Linked DNA regions of Homo sapiens: all the other regions are linked to region 1. The links are contacts of gene promoters, found by promoter capture Hi-C in blood cells and fetal thymus (Javierre and others, 2016). All regions are on one chromosome and are shown on one strand. Each heading gives the region's core, a stretch centred on a gene start or on the middle of the fragment in contact. The rest is flanking DNA. Distances are from core to core; before and after follow the strand shown. Region 1 holds the start of NTF4 (neurotrophin 4). Region 2 overlaps SLC6A16 (solute carrier family 6 member 16). Region 3 overlaps LOC107985340 (a long non-coding RNA gene). Region 4 overlaps LOC107985340 (a long non-coding RNA gene).

Region 1 (3,768 bases), core at 715-3,214:
CAGAGAGAAGGGGGGACAGAGACCTGGGGGGGAACAGAGACCCAGAGAGAGGGGGGACAGAGATCCAGAGACAGAGAGAGAGACAGAGACCCAGAGAGTGAAGGGGACAGAGACCCAGAGAGAGAGGGGGACAGAGACCCAGAGAGAGAGGGACAGAGACCCACAGACAGAAGGGGACAGAGACCCAGAGAGAGAGGGGGACAGAGACCCAGAGAGAGAGGGACAGAGACCCAGAGAGAGAGGGGGACAGAGACTCAGAGAGAGAAGGACAGACCCAGAGTTGGAGGGAGACAGAAATCCAGAGGGAGGGGAACAGAGACCTGGAGATAGGGGGACAGAGACTGTTTCCCAGTCACTCTGTTTGGAAACCTCATCCCTACTATCCCCTCCAGGACTAGAAGCTAGAAGCTAGAAGCTAGAGTCCTCCTGCTATGCGGCAGGATGTATTGGCTGTTTAGGAACAGGGGAAGGGTGGAGAAGCCGGAGAGGTGACCTGAATGCACACCCAAAGCCTGGGAAGTGGCCCTTCCCCCCACCCCCAATAAATAACTGGAGCGGCCTTGTGTGTTGCCTTGGCTGGGATGGTGAGGAGCAGGAAACACCCTAACCGGGGACACCCTCCTGCCACCTTGCCATGCTATATTTAGGCTGAGGGGGTGTGGGATGACCCTCGAGGCAGGTGTCAGTTTTCCTTCTGAAAATAGCGCAGGCGGAGGGGAGCGGAGTCTCAGGGTAGAGGTGTGGTGGGGTGAGGAGCCCCGCTGCCCTCATGACTGTCCTGAGACACTCCGGCTCCGGTCCCATCCCTGTCTTTCTCAGGGTCTCTCAGGGGCTCTGTCCCCTTCTCGGGGGGGTGGGGGGGTCTGCCCTCACGCTCTCTGGGCCTCTGTCTTCTCTCTGGGCTCCTGCCCTCCCCCACTCTCTCTAGTCTCGGTCCCCCTCTTTCTTTTGGTCTCTCCCCACTTTTCCATGTCTTCTCCCTATCTCTCCCTTCATGTCACCGCGCACCATTTCTCAAGGTAGCTGATTGTTCTTAAGACACATCTGTCTATCTCTGGTCCTATGATACCTTGCACGTCTCTTATCTGAGCTCAGGACAAGACCTTCTCCCCGGTCCCCAGCCAGGAAATTCCAGGGGAGAGGAGTATGCGGGAGCCCCCACATCCACTGTCTCCCCGGGCCTGGGGCCTTATCACTGCCCAAGCCCAGCTGGTTAATGTCTGGCGTGGAGCTCCTGGGAAGTGGGGAGGAGAGCAGAGGGTGGGAATCTGCCCCGGGATTGACACGCAATTGGCAAAAGACGGCAAAGGAATCTCAGGCCCAGACTCCTGGGGCTAATGGAGGAGGAGGCTGGGGGCTGGACTCCTGAGTCTGAGACGGGGCGGGGTTGGGAGGTGGTGGGGGGAACTGTGGGCTTAGTACTCAGGCGCCTGGGGCTGGGGGGAGAGGTGGCTGGGGTCGCAAGTCCTGGGTCTGAGGGAGGAGGGGCCGGATGCCTGGACTCCTGGGTCTGAAGGGAGGAGGGGCTGGGGGCCTGGACTGCTAGGTCCAAAGGAGGAGGCAGCTGGAAACTGGGACTCCTGTGACCAAGGCGGCCGCGTTGAACGAGCCAGGCCTGGCTTCCAAGGTCCCGGCACGCGAGTGCAAGGCAGGATCCCCCGGCCCCTCCTCTGCCGCCCGGCGCCGCCCCGCCCCCGCCCCCGACCCGGGCCCTGCGGAGCGTGAGCAGCTAGCACCCGGCGGGCCAGCGAGCGTCCCTGCAGCCAGCGAGCAGGAGGAGGAGCTGCTGCCGGGCGGAGGGCAGCCGCGGGAGCCGAAGAGGGCGCCCCAGGTAAGATCTCCACTCCTCCTCCCTCGGGATTCCGGCGTCCTGGTCGCCCTGCCCTCGGGTGGGGAGGGACGGGGGCGGGGCCGACCGGGGCGGGGCTTGGCGGAGGAAACTGAGGCAAGAGGGAAGTGTCCCAGATATGCAGCCGGTTTCCCCTGAGGGGTCTCGGAGTCCGGAACCCCCAACCCAAATCTGGAGGATGAGGAACCCGGAGTCTGCATTTCTTAGTATCCGAGAAGGAGGGGCCTGAATTCCAGAACTCCTGGGTCTGAGAGAGGAGGGCACTGGGGGCCTGGATTCCTGGGTCTGAGGGAGAAGGGCGCTGGGGGCATGGACTCCTGGGTCTGAAGGAGGAGGGCGCTGGGGACCTGGACTCCAGGGTCTGAGGGAGAAGGGTGCTGGGGGCCTGGGCCTGGACTCCTCCTGGGTCTGAGGGAGAAGGGTGCTGGGGGCCTGGACTTCTGGGTCTGAGAGAGGAGGGCGCTGGGGGCCTGGACTACTCCTGGGTCTGAGGGAGGAGGGCGCTGGGGATCTGAACTCCTGGGTCTGAAGGTGGAGGCCCTGGGGTCTGCACTACTCGGTCTGAGGGAGAAGGCGGTCCTGGTTGGGTCAGCCTGGGCTCCTTTCACTCTCCACCCTTCCCCTTTCCTGTACCGAGGAGCCAGGGCAGGCAGCCACTCCAGGTATGTGCAGAAGTCTTGGGCGGGCCCTGGCCTGTCCTGTGAGGAGGGAACATTCCAGGAAGCAGCTTGGGGAACCAGGGCTTCTTGAGTGTGGGCCCTCAGGGACCCGGGTGTCCAGGCCAGTTCCGCCCCATCTGGGAGATGAATGGGCCGAGGGGGATGTAATCTCTTCCAGCCTCCTTCATCCACTGCCTCTCCCTTCCCCTATTCTCCCTTCCCCTCCCTCCATCTGCTTCCCATCCCAGCCAGGAGCCATCACCTGGGTAGAAAAGGGGCCTCTGGAAAGGGGGCGGGGCCTTGACTCTTGGGTACCCTGCACTTGAAGAGGAACTCTGGGAAGGGGTTGTTCAGGGATTTGGCCCCTTCCCCACCTGCCTCTATAACCTGTCTATTCTTTTCTTCCCCTAGGTGGTTGCCCCCTCCCTCTCCTGAGATGTCAGGAAGGAGGGGGCCACCTGTGTCCTCCACAGGGGCCCCCCGAAGCCTGGGGACTCCCAGCCCCAGAGCTCCGAGGCGGAGGAGGTGCTGACAGGTCTGGTAACTACTGACTGTTTCCCAGTCTTCTCCACGCCACCCTTTCCCAGAACCACAGGCTTCCAGAATGTTGTAGGGAAACTGCAAAATCCGCGCCTCCACCAGCCTCTCCCAGCGCCAGGTCAATTTCACACACAGGGAAACTGAAGCCTGCCTCAGAGGGGCAGCGTTTTACCTCCTTAGTGGCAGTTTTGAGGTGAACTGGGGTCTCCCTAGGATTCCAGGTTGTGACCTTTCTCTAAATTGTGGAATGTGGCCAGGCGTGGTGGCTTGAGTCTGTAGTCCCAGCTACTCAGGAGGCTGAGGCAGGAGAATGCCATGAACTTGGGAGGCGGAGCTTGCAGTGAGCCAAGATCGTGCCACTGCACTCCAGCCTGGGCGACAGAGGGAGATTCCATCTCAAAAAAAAAAAAAAAAAAATTTTGTTTGGGACCAGGCATGGTGGCTTATGCTTGTAATCCCAGCACTTTGGGAGGCCAGGACACGACTATTGCTTGAGGTTGGGAGTTCAAGACCAGTCTGGCCAACATGGTGAAACCCCATCTCTATTAAAAATACAAAAATTAGCTGGGCACAGTGGCAGGTGCTTGTAATCCCACCTACTCAGAAGGCTGAGGCAGGAGAATCACTTGAACCCAGGAGGCAGACATTGCAGTGAGCCAGGATTGTGCCACTGTACTCCAGCCTGGCCAACAGAGTGAGATTCTGTCTCAAAAAAAAAAA
Region 2 (3,768 bases), core at 449-2,948, 230 kb before region 1:
ACCCAACAAACATTTTCTTGAGACTTTGTGTCAGGAAAGCCTTGTGGTACTGGGATATGAATGACTTACATTGAGATACTCTTCTCAAAGAGCTCAGAGTCCAAAGAGAAAGACGTATATAAGCAGAAAATCCCAGTACCCGGTGGTAAGTCTATAGTAGAGGTAGCCAGGGAAACTCCGGGGGCATAGATGGTTAGTTAAGGAAGACTGGAGAGTTAGGGAAGGTGGCCTAGAGAAGAGGATGCTTGAGCAGAGCCTGGACAGATGAATAGGTGGAGATAGGGTGATGGGCACCCTAGACCAAAAGACCCCACTTGTATATTTATTGAGATTGAGAATATGTACTAAAGGAGACTGGATAGGTGGCTGAAATAAACTAGATAAGTTCACCAAGGGCCAAATGCCACTTTATTTTATCTGTGTTGTTCACTGCTGGATATCCAGCACTTAGAAGAGTTCCTGGCACATCATAGACATTCTCATATTTATGGGATGAATGAAAGAGACTTGGCCTTTCTCCTGAGGCCATTGGATACCCATGGAAAGTTCTTGAGCAGGAGAGGGGTGTTTGGAAAAGTTTCTTGGGTTAGGATAGAAGACAGACTGACTAGGGGGAAGATGAGAGAGGACAAGACTTGAGATGAAACAGGAGATTAGAGATACAATAGAATGTTTGAAAGATGCCAAGGTTGGGCTGGCCCTGCCTCCAAGGTGGTGAGGCCTAACTGGGCATCCCACACTCTGGTGGCCCTTCTCCAGGTTCCTTGCAGACCTGACGATCCTGTTGGGCCACCCCATCTCTCCCATCTTTGGTTGGCTGTGGCCCCATCTGTGTCCAGTTGTGCTGCTAATCATCTTTGTGACCATGATGGTTCATCTTTGTATGAAGCCGATCACCTACATGTCCTGGGACTCAAGCACCGTGAGCCTCCCCCAGGACCCAGAACCCCTTTGGGAGTAGGGGCCAGACCTTTCAATTCACTCTGGGTGAAAGAACCCAGTCATCTCATTCTCTTACTGCCCGAAGACTCATGGGTTTTCTGCTTTGGTTCCCCACCCATCCTTCCCCTCCACAACTCTTCCTTTTCTCTTGGGGATTTTGATATTCTGAACCCTTTTCCCATCTCTCCACAGTCAAAAGAGGTGCTTCGACCATACCCACCGTGGGCACTGCTCTTGATGATCACCCTTTTTGCCATTGTCATCCTCCCCATCCCTGCATACTTTGTATACTGCCGCATACATAGGATTCCCTTCAGGCCCAAGAGCGGAGACGGGCCTATGACAGCCTCCACATCCCTACCCCTAAGTCACCAGCTAACACCCAGTAAAGAGGTTCAAAAGGAAGAAATTCTACAAGTTGATGAAACAAAGTACCCATCAACTTGTAATGTGACTTCCTAACTTCATTAATTTGGCTTCACATAACATATCCCTTAGAACAGATCCAATAGACAACTCTTAATATCAGCTTGCAACTGTTGATCTCCCTGGATCCAGAACCACTTTTATTTCCAAGAGGAGGGGCATTCTTTGGGGGTGTTCATGGGGCCTGGACTTGCAATCCCTTCCTGGGTCCCATCTTACCTGGTGACCACCATCATTGTTTTCCCCATCCTCTTCCTCAACACACATACATGCACAACACATATACAATACTAGTGATGTCTACCAGTCCTGCTACTTCTGGGGTGCCTGTCTCCTGGAATGGAGCTGGAGGAGCAATGCTGTTGGTGAATAAATCAGTCTACTGGAACTCCAAGGACTGGATGTAAGCAGATCTTTTTTTCCTATAGATGTCTCAGATGTTCAGTTTTCCTGTCACAAGGCTTCCAGTCTGTATTAGTTCATTTTCACACTGCTAATAAAGACATACCTGAAACTGGGAACAAAAAGAGGTTTAACTGGACTTACAGTTCCACATGGTTGGGGAGGCCTCAATCATGGTGGGAGGTGAAAGGCATTTCTTACATGATGGCAGCAAGAGAAAAAAATGAGGAAGAAGCAAAAGTGGAAACCCCTGATAAACCCATTAGATCTCATGAGACTTATTCACTATCACGAGATTAGGATGGAAAAGACCAGCCCCCATGATTCAATTACCTCCCCTGGTTCCCTCCCATAACACGTGGGAATTCTGGGAGATATAATTGAAGTTTATATTTAAATGGAGACACAGTGAAACCATATCATTCTGCCCCTGGCCCCTCCAAATCTCATGTCCTCACATTTCAAAAGCAATCATGCCTTCCCAACAGTCCCCCAATGTCTCAACTCATTTCAGCATTAATCCAAAAGTCCAGAGTGTCATCTGAGACAAGGCAAGTCCCTTCCACCTATGAGCCTGTAAAATCAAAAACAAGCTAGTTACTTCCTAGATACAATGGGGGTACTGGTATCAGGTAAATACAGCCATTCCAAATGAGAGAAATTGGCCAAAACAAAGGGGTTACAGGGCCCATGCAAGTCCAAAATCTAGCAGGGGAGTCAAATTTTAAAGCTCCATAATGATCTCCTTTGACTCCAGATCTCACATCCAGGTCATGCTGATGCAAAAGGTGGGTTCCCATGGTCTTAGGCAGCTCCACCTCGTGGCTTTGCAGGGTACAGTCCCCCTTCCAGCTGCTTTCACGGGCTGGTGTTGAGTGTGGCTTTTCCAAGCTCAGGGTGCAAGCTGTCAGTGGTTCTACCATTCTGGGGTCTGGAGGACAGTGGCCCTCTTCTCACAGCTCCACTAGGCAGTGCCCCAGTAGGGACTCTGACTCTGTGTGAGGGCTCTGACCCCACGTTTCCCTTCTGCATTTCCCTCCCTGGCAGAGGTTCTGCATGAGGGCTCTGCCCCTACAGAAAACTTTTGCCTGGACATCCATGCATTTCCATATATCTTCTGAGATCTAGGCGGAGGTTCCCAAACCTCAATTCTTGACTTCTGTGCACCCGCAGGCTCAACATCACGTGGAAGCTGCCAAGGCTTGGGGCTTCTACTCTCTGAAGCCACAGCCCGAGCTGTACGTTGGCCCCTTTCAGCCATGGCTGGAGTGGCTGGGACACAGGGCACCAAGTCCCTAGGCTGCACACTGCATGGGGACCCTGGGCCTGGCCCACAAAACCACTTTTTCCTCCTGGGCCTCTGGGCCTGTGATGGGAGGGGCTGCCATGAATGTCTCTGATATGGCCTGGAGACATTTTCCCCATGGTCTAAGGGATTAACATTAGGCTCCTTGCTACTCATGCAAATTTCTGCAGCTGGCTTGAATTTCTCCTCAAAAATGGATTTTTCTTTTCCACTGCATCATCAGGCTGCAAATTTTCTGAACTTTTATGCTGTTTCCCTTTTAAAACGGAATGCTTTTAACAGCACGCAAGTCACCTTCTGAATACTTTGCTGCTTAGAAATTTCTTCTGCCAGATACACTAAATCATCTCTCTCAAGTTCAAAGTTCCACAAATCTCTAGGGCAGGGGCAAGATGCCACTAGTCACTTTGCTAAAACATAATAAAGAGTCATCTTTGCTCCAGTACCCAACAAGTTCCTCATCTCCATCTGAGACCACCTCAGCCTGGACCTTATTGTTCATATCAGCATTTTTGTCAAAACCATTCAGTAGGTCTTCAGGAGGTTCCAAACTTTCCCACATTTTCCTGTCTTCTTCTGAGCCCTCCAAACTGTTCCAACCTCTGCCTGTTACCCAGTTCCAAAGTTGCTTCCATATTGTTGGGTATCTTTTCAGCAACACCCCACTCTACTGGTACCAGTTTACTGTATTA
Region 3 (3,768 bases), core at 356-2,855, 180 kb before region 1:
TGTGGTGGCATGTGCCTGTAATCCCAGCTACTCAGGAGGCTGAGGCAAGAGAATCGCTTGAAGCCAGGAGGTGGAGGCTGCGGTGACCCAGCCTGCACAACAGAGACTCTAAAACAAAAGGAGCACCATCATAGATCTTGATGACATCAAAATAATAATGGAATATTATGATCAAAATTATACCTATAAGTTCAACTTAAACACCTTGCAAGGTACAAATTACAAAGACTGATGCAAGTAGAAAATCTAAATAGCCCCATTTCTGAGTTTAAAAGTTAAATTTGGCCAGGCGCAGTGGCTTGTGCCTGTAATCACAGCACTTTGGGAGGTGGGTGGATCACTTCAGGTCAGGAGTTTGAGACCAGCCTGGCTAACATGATGAAACCCCATCTCTACTAAAAATATAAAAATTAGCCGGGCGTGGTGGCAGGCGCCTATAATCCCAGCTACTCGGGAGGCTGAGGCAGGAGAATAGCTTGAACCCAGGAGGCGGAGGTTGCAGTGAGCTAAGATCACGCCCTCCAGCCTGGGCGACAGAACGAGAGACTGTCTCAAAGTATATTAGCAAATTTAATCCACAAACAAAGTGGATACAGTATAAGCAAGTGGTTTTATCCCAGAAATTAATGTAACTTATTACATTAATAGATTAAAGGGAAGAACCATTTGACAAAATTCAACACCTATTATTGGAGGAAAAAAAACCTGCAACAAACTAGAAATACAACAGAACTTCCTCCATGTGCTGGGCAGAGATTCTCTACCTGAACATGATGGGGATTTTGCCCAGAAAATTCTTTGCTGGGGTGGGGAGAGGCTGTGCTGTGCATCCTAGAATGCTTGGCAGTGTTCCTAGCCTTCACCCTCAAGATGCCAGCATCAACGCTCCCCACTCAGCTGTTTGTGACAATGAAAAATGTCACATGACAGGCCAAGTGCAGTGGCTCACGCCTGTAATACCAGCACTTTGGGAGGCCGAGGTGGGCGGATCATGAGGTCAGGAGATCGAGACCATCCTGGCTAACATGGTGAAACCCTGTCTCTACTAAAAATACAAAAAATTAGCCAGGCGTGGTGGCGGGCGCCTGTAGTCCCAGCTACTCAGGAGGCTGAGGCAGGAGAATGGCGTGAACCCGGGAGGCGGAGTTTGCAGTGAGCCGAGATCACGCCACTGCACTCCAGCCTGAGTGATAGAGCGAGACTCAGTCTCAAAAAAAAAAAAAAAAAAAAAAAAAAAAAAGTCATATGACATTACCAAATGTCCCTGGAAGAGGTGGGAAATCACCCTCGGTTGAGAATCATTCATTGTGTTAAGGATATTAACAACAATGACAAAAGCTACAGCTAACATCATACTAAATGATGAAATACTGAATACTTTCCCCAATACTGAAAACAGGGAAGGGAAATCCCTTTACACCACTTCTGTTCAACACTATAGTGAAGTTCCTAGCCAGTGAAAGAAGGCAAGAAAAAGATATAAAAAGCATAGAAACTGGCTAGGAAGAAGTAAAACTGTCTTTATTCACAGATGTCATAAGCATGTAATTAGGAAATCCTAGGGAATCTACAAAAATAAAAAGCTACTAGAATAAGTGCACTTAGGAAAGTCACAAAAATAAAAGCCAATATACAAAAATAATCACATTTCTGCATACTAGCAACAAACCATAGTTAAGTGAAATTTTAAAAACAAAACCATTTACAATAGCCTCAAAAATCAAATGCTAAGACTATATTTAACAAAAGATATTCAAAAATCTCTATACTGAAAACTACAAGGTATTTTTGAGAGAAAAACCTAAATAAATGGAAATATTTGTTTATGAATTCAAAGAATTGGTGTAGGCCGGGCGTGGTGGCTCACGCCTGTAATCCCAGCACTTCGGGAGGCCGAGGTGGGTGGATTACTTGAGCTCAGCAGTTTGAGACCAGCCTGGCCAACATGGTGAAACCCTGTCTCTACTAAAAATACAAAAAAATTAGCTGGGCATGGTGGTACACACCTGTAATCCCAGCTACTCAGGAGGCTGAGGTAGGAGAATCGCTTGAGCCTGCGAGGCAGAGGCTGCAGTGAGCCGAGATCGCACCACTGCACTCCTGCATGGGTAACAGAGTAAGACTCTGTCTCAAAAAACAAGATATCAGTTCTCCCCAAATTGATCTACAGATTCAACACAATGGCAATTCAGATCTCAGCCAGGTTTGTTGAGGAATTGACAAGCTGATTCTAAAATGTACATGAAAATGCAAAGGACCGGCCGGGTGTAGTGGCTTATGCCGGTCATCCCAGCACTTTGGGAGGCCAAGGCAGGAGGATCACCTGAGGTCAGGAGTTTGAGACCAGCCTGGCCAACATGAGGAAACCCCATCTCTACTAAAAAATAATTAGCCAGGCGTGGTATCGGGTGCCTGTAATTTCACTTAGGAGGCTGAGGCAGGAGAATTGCTTGAACTCAGTAGGCAGGGAGGTTGCAATGACCTGAGATCACACCACTGCACTCCAGCCTGGGCAATGGAGCAAGACTCCATCTCAAAAAAAAAAAAAAAAAAAAAATGCAAAAGACCTAAAGTAGTCCAAACAATCTTGAGAAAGAACACGTTGGAGACTCATACTATCGAATTTCAAGATTTACTATAAAGCTACAGTAGTCAGGGCAGTGTTATATTAGCCTAAAGATAAACCAAAAGATCAATAGAACAGAACAGAAATCCACCTATACACATATGACCAATTGATGTTCAGTAAAGATATCACAGCAATTCAATGGGTAAGGGAAAGTCTTTTTAACAAACAGGGCTAGAACTACTGTATAGCCATATAGAAAAATATAAACATATTCCTGCCACATACCATACCCCCACCCCAAATTAACAGGAACCAAAGACCTAAATTCAAAAGCCAAAACTAGAAACTTCCGGAAGAAAACATAGAATATCTTTATGACCTCGGGCTTAGCAAAGATGTTCTATATTAAATGTAACAGGCCAGACACAAATGTCTATGTATTGTGTGAATCTATTATCTATGAAACCCAAGAACAGGTCAGACTTATATGTAGTGATGGAAATCAGTCATTGCTTCTGGGGTGAAGAGAAAGGAACCCAAAGTAACTCTCTGGAGTGACGGAAATTGGGGCATTGGTGACAGGGGTCATTTGTCAAAACTCATTAAAGTATACATTTAGTATCTGTGCTTGTTGTCTGTAAATTATAGCTCAATAAAAACTGAGTTTTGGCCAGGTGTGGTGGCTCACGCCTGTAATCCCAACACGTTGGGAGGCCAAGACAGGAAGATCGCTTGAGCTCAGGGGTTTGAGACTAGTCTGGGCAACATAAGGAGACCGTGTCTCTACAAAAAAAAAAAAAAAATTAGCTGGTCATGGTGGCACATGCCTGTGGTCCCAGCTACTCAAGATGCTGGGCGTGAGGATCGCTTGGGCCCGGGAGGCCAAGGCTGCAGTGAGCTGTCATCACGCCCCTGCACTCCAGCCTGGGTGACAGAGCAAGACTGTCTAAAGGAAAAAAAAAAATAGCCGGGGCCAGGCACGCTGGCTCATGTCTGTAATCCCAGCACTTTGGGAGGCCGAGGCAGGCGGATCACGGGGTCAGGAGATCGAGACCATCCTGGCTAACACAGTGAAACCCCGTCTCTACTAAAAATACAAAAAAATGAGCCGGGTGTGGTGGCGGGTGCCTGTAGTCCCAGCTACTCGGGAGGCTGAGGCAGGAGAATGGCGTGAACCCGGGACCTTGCAGTGAGCCGAG
Region 4 (3,768 bases), core at 362-2,861, 160 kb before region 1:
GTGTCGTGGTAGGTGCCTGTAATCCCAGCTACTTGGGAGGCTGAGGCAGAAGAATCGCTTAAACCTGGGAGGCAGAGGTTGCAATGAGCCAAGATTGTGCCATTGCACTCCAGCCTGGGCCACAGAGACTCCATCTCAAAAAAAAAAAAAAAAATCACTTCAATTTGTCTCATTCGGCCTTTAATTAAGGCTACTTTTGATGGGACTCCCAACAGCAAGATCAGGCCAACCTTGAGTATTGACCTCAACTCTCAACTATGTCCCCCAGGGTCCTAGACTCAGCCAACTGTGAATAAGTCTCAAGGTGGCTCATGCCTGTAATCCCTGCAGTTTGGGAGGCTGAGACCGGCAGATCATTTAATCTTAGGAGTTCAAGATCAGCCTGGGCAACGTAGTGAAGGCCCATCTCTACAAAAAATACAAAAACAATATTAGCCAGAAGTGGTGGCACACCTGTAATCCTAGCTACTTGGGAGGCTGAGGCGGGAGGATCCCCTGAACCCAGAAGGTTGAGGTTGCAGTGAGCCAAGATCACGCCACTGTACTCCAGCCTAGGTGACAGAGCAAGACCCTGTCTCTAATACAATAAAATTAAAATAAAAAAAAAATAAAAGTCCAGGTGTGGTGGCTCACGTCTGTAATCCCAGTACTTTGGGAGGCCGAGGAGGGGGAATCACCTCAGGTCAGGAGTTCAAGACCAGCCTGATCAACATGGAGAAACCACGTCTCTACTAAAAATACAAAATTAGCCGGGCATGGTGCCACATGCCTGTAATCGCAGCTACTTGGGAGGCTGAGGCAGAAGAATCGCTTGAACCCGGGAGGCAGAGGTTGCAACGAGCTGAGATCATGCCATTACACTCCAGCCTGGGCAACAAGAGTGAAACTCCATCTCAGAAAAAAAAAAAGTAAAAACTGGTCCCAGAGGACCAGTACATCTTATTTTGGACAACCAGGATATAGTCTAAGGCGACTCTATTGTCCATTATAAGCAGAGCAGAGAACTTTAGGCTGATCTGCTAAAATACCAAAAAAAGAAATTTAAAAATAAAAAAACTGATCTGATCTTTGATGTCTTTACAAACAATTACAGGGTGACAACAGATGAGCCTAAAAGCAACCCCCATCCACAATGGGCATGCCACAGCTTACCTCCCCAACCTGAGAAGAGACAGTCATTGGATTTTGTTGTTAAGCTTGGCTGGAATTACCGTTACATTGTCTCAGTTAAGCCACATAAGTAATATCAGCAGGTTGTTTCAACTAACACAGGAGTGAGCCAACTTTTTCTGGAAAGAACCAGGTAATAGTATTTTGGGTTTTGTAGGGCATTTGTTTTCTGTGGCATAGTCATCTTTTTCTTTTTTCTTTTTGAAACAAGATCTTGCTCTGTCACTGAGGCTGGAGAGCTGTGGTACAATAATATCTCACTGCAGCTTCGACCTCCCAGGCTCAAGCGATCCTCCCACCTCAGCCTCCCGAGTAGCTGGGACTACAGGCGTGCACCAGCACACCCAGCTAATTTTTAATTTTTTGTAGAGACAGGCTTTCACCACATAGCCCAGGCTAGTCTTGATCTCCTGGGCTCAAGTGATCCTTCTGCTTCAGCCTCCCCAAGTGCTAGGATTACAGAGGTGAGCCACCACACCTGGCTTTTTTTTTTTTTTTTTTTTTTTAAACAATTCTTGGCTGAGCCGTGGCTCACGCCTGTAATTCCAGCACTTTGGGAGGCTGAAGCAGGTGGATCACTTGAGGTCAGGAGTTCAAGACCAGGACGGCCAACATGGAGAAACCCCGTCTCTACTAAAAATACAAAAATTAGCCGGGCATGGTGGCGGGCACCTTTAATCCCAGCTACTCGGGAAGCTGAGGCAGGAGAATGGCGTGAACCCAGGAGGCGGAGCTTGCAGTGAGCCAAGATCATACCACTGCTCTCCAGCCTGGGCGACAAAGCGAGATTCCATCTCAAAAACAACAACAACAACAACAACAACAACACATTCTTTAAAATATATGAAAAGCTTTGTTAGTTTATAGACCACACAGAAACAGGTCACAGGCCAGATGTATCCCACAGGCTATAGTGTGCCAACTCCTGATCTAGCACCATGTCGGTCCAACAAGGGGATTCTGGTGCCTAAACCAGCATTAGTTTGAATCCCCTACTTGGCCCCCTCAGGACTCAACTGCCATCTGGAGGGCATGACCACCAGGCTGTCCAGCGGAAAGAAAGATGCATCATTCCCAACAATGGTCAGCGGGCAAAATTGTACTTTTTTTTTGAGACGGAGTCTTGCTCTGTCACCCAGGCTGGAGTGCAGTGGTGTGATCTCGGCTCACTGCAAGCTCCGCCTCCCGGGTTCATGCCATTCTCCTGCCTCAGCCTCCTGAGTAGCTGGGACTACAGGCGCCCGCCACCAAGCCCGGCTAATTTTTTGTATTTTTAGTAGAGACGGGGTTTCACCATGTTAGCCAGGATGGTCTCGATCTCCTGACCTCGGGTCTCTGTAACTCCTCCAACACTTCTGTCTCAGGGACTATCCAAGATGCAGCCAAGAAGAGATGAAGCCTCTTCTGGGACTGCCACATTCAGTGACCAAACGGCCTGAGTAAAGTGTGTGCGGCCGGGTGTGGTGGCTCACGCCTGTGATCCCCCCACTTTGGGAGGCCAAGACGGGTGGATCACTTGAGGTCAGGGGTTCGAGACCAGCTGGCCAACATGGTGAAACCTATCTCTACTAAAAATACAAAAATCACCTAGGCATGGTGACGCCTATAATCCCAGCTACTTGGGAGGCTGAGGCAGGAGAATCGCTTGAACCCAGGAGGCAGAGGTTACAGTGAGCCGAGATGGCACCACTGCACTCCAGCCTGAGCAACAGAGCATCTGTCTCAAAAAATAAATAAATAAAGTGTGTGGATCAGGAAGAGGTAGGAAGGGGAAACCAGAAACCTTTTTGAGCTGATTCTTGAGGAAGATGATCCAACAATCAATAATACCAGACACCCGCAGATAGTGAGGAAGTTACAAAGTCCCATTGAATACCTTAAATATCAACCAAACTGCAATCAATGTCTTCCGGAGTTGGTGTTGGGGTTAGGTGGTTGCTGCCCCCTAGTGGACATCTTTAGGTTTAACATAGTGGAATGCGCCCAGCCGTTTAAGGGAACCCGTTTGAATTGAGGGCCCCATTGAGCCAGAGGAATTGCCTCAGGCAGGGGAGTGGAGGAGAGTTTTCTCCAAATGGGGTAGCTGCTGCGGGGTGCGGCGGCTCACACTTGTAATTCCAGCACTTTGGGAGGCCGTGGCAGGAGGATTGCTTGAGCCCAGGAGTTCAAGACCAGCATGGGCAACACAGCGAGACTCTGTCTCTGGAAAAAAAAAAAATTAAAAAATTAACCGGGTATGCTGGCGCATGCCTATAGTCCCAGCTACTCAGGAGGTTGAGGTGGGAGGATCGCTTGAGCCCAGGAGTTCCAGGCTGCAGTGAGCCACGATCATGCCACTGCACTCCAGCCTGGGCAACACAGCAAGACCGTCTCGAAACAGAAAACAGAAGAAACAGGGGTAGCTGTGACTTTTGTATGTAAAACTCAGAAGACCTGAGGACCAGACCAGCTGTGCTCTTAGACGTACCCTTTACCTTTGGCCATTTCCGGTATTGCTAGTGAAGCTGCAGTTAACCTACCCGAGAACAAGGGTGTGAGGCTGGGGAGTCAAAGGCCACCACAAGCCAGGCGTTTGCTTTCAAGGAGAGCTTAATAGTG

What was found. The method cuts DNA at HindIII sites, captures the fragments that hold promoters and counts their contacts. A CHiCAGO score of 5 or more calls a contact.
Region 2: a contact is called between a fragment that was not itself captured here and the fragment with the promoter of NTF4 in region 1, in 3 of 17 cell types (erythroblasts, M1 macrophages and endothelial precursors). The highest score is 5.9, in erythroblasts.
Region 3: a contact is called between a fragment that was not itself captured here and the fragment with the promoter of NTF4 in region 1, in 2 of 17 cell types (M2 macrophages and erythroblasts). The highest score is 5.8, in M2 macrophages.
Region 4: a contact is called between a fragment that was not itself captured here and the fragment with the promoter of NTF4 in region 1, in 3 of 17 cell types (endothelial precursors, M0 macrophages and erythroblasts). The highest score is 7.7, in endothelial precursors.

What each region holds. Positions count from the first base shown.
Region 1 is chr19:49,063,014-49,066,781 of GRCh38, reverse strand. It overlaps NTF4 (neurotrophin 4), which reads left to right and starts at 1,964. Exons shown (of 2, transcript NM_006179.5): 1 at 1,964-3,043. The HindIII fragment of the contact is 7,079 bases long and covers 1-3,768 here.
Region 2 is chr19:49,287,759-49,291,526 of GRCh38, reverse strand. It overlaps SLC6A16 (solute carrier family 6 member 16), which reads left to right. Exons shown (of 12, transcript NM_014037.3): 11 at 760-922; 12 at 1,135-1,889. The coding sequence ends at 1,404. Among named protein-coding and RNA genes, the nearest start is that of MIR4324, 19 kb to the left of the region's middle. The HindIII fragment of the contact is 6,288 bases long and covers 1-3,768 here.
Region 3 is chr19:49,245,501-49,249,268 of GRCh38, reverse strand. The region is part of intron 2 of LOC107985340 (a long non-coding RNA gene); the gene reads right to left. Among named protein-coding and RNA genes, the nearest start is that of MIR4324, 61 kb to the left of the region's middle. The HindIII fragment of the contact is 8,311 bases long and covers 1-3,768 here.
Region 4 is chr19:49,225,559-49,229,326 of GRCh38, reverse strand. The region is part of intron 1 of LOC107985340 (a long non-coding RNA gene); the gene reads right to left. Among named protein-coding and RNA genes, the nearest start is that of TRPM4, 70 kb to the right of the region's middle. RefSeq lists an enhancer at 3,199-3,248. The HindIII fragment of the contact is 825 bases long and covers 1,199-2,023 here.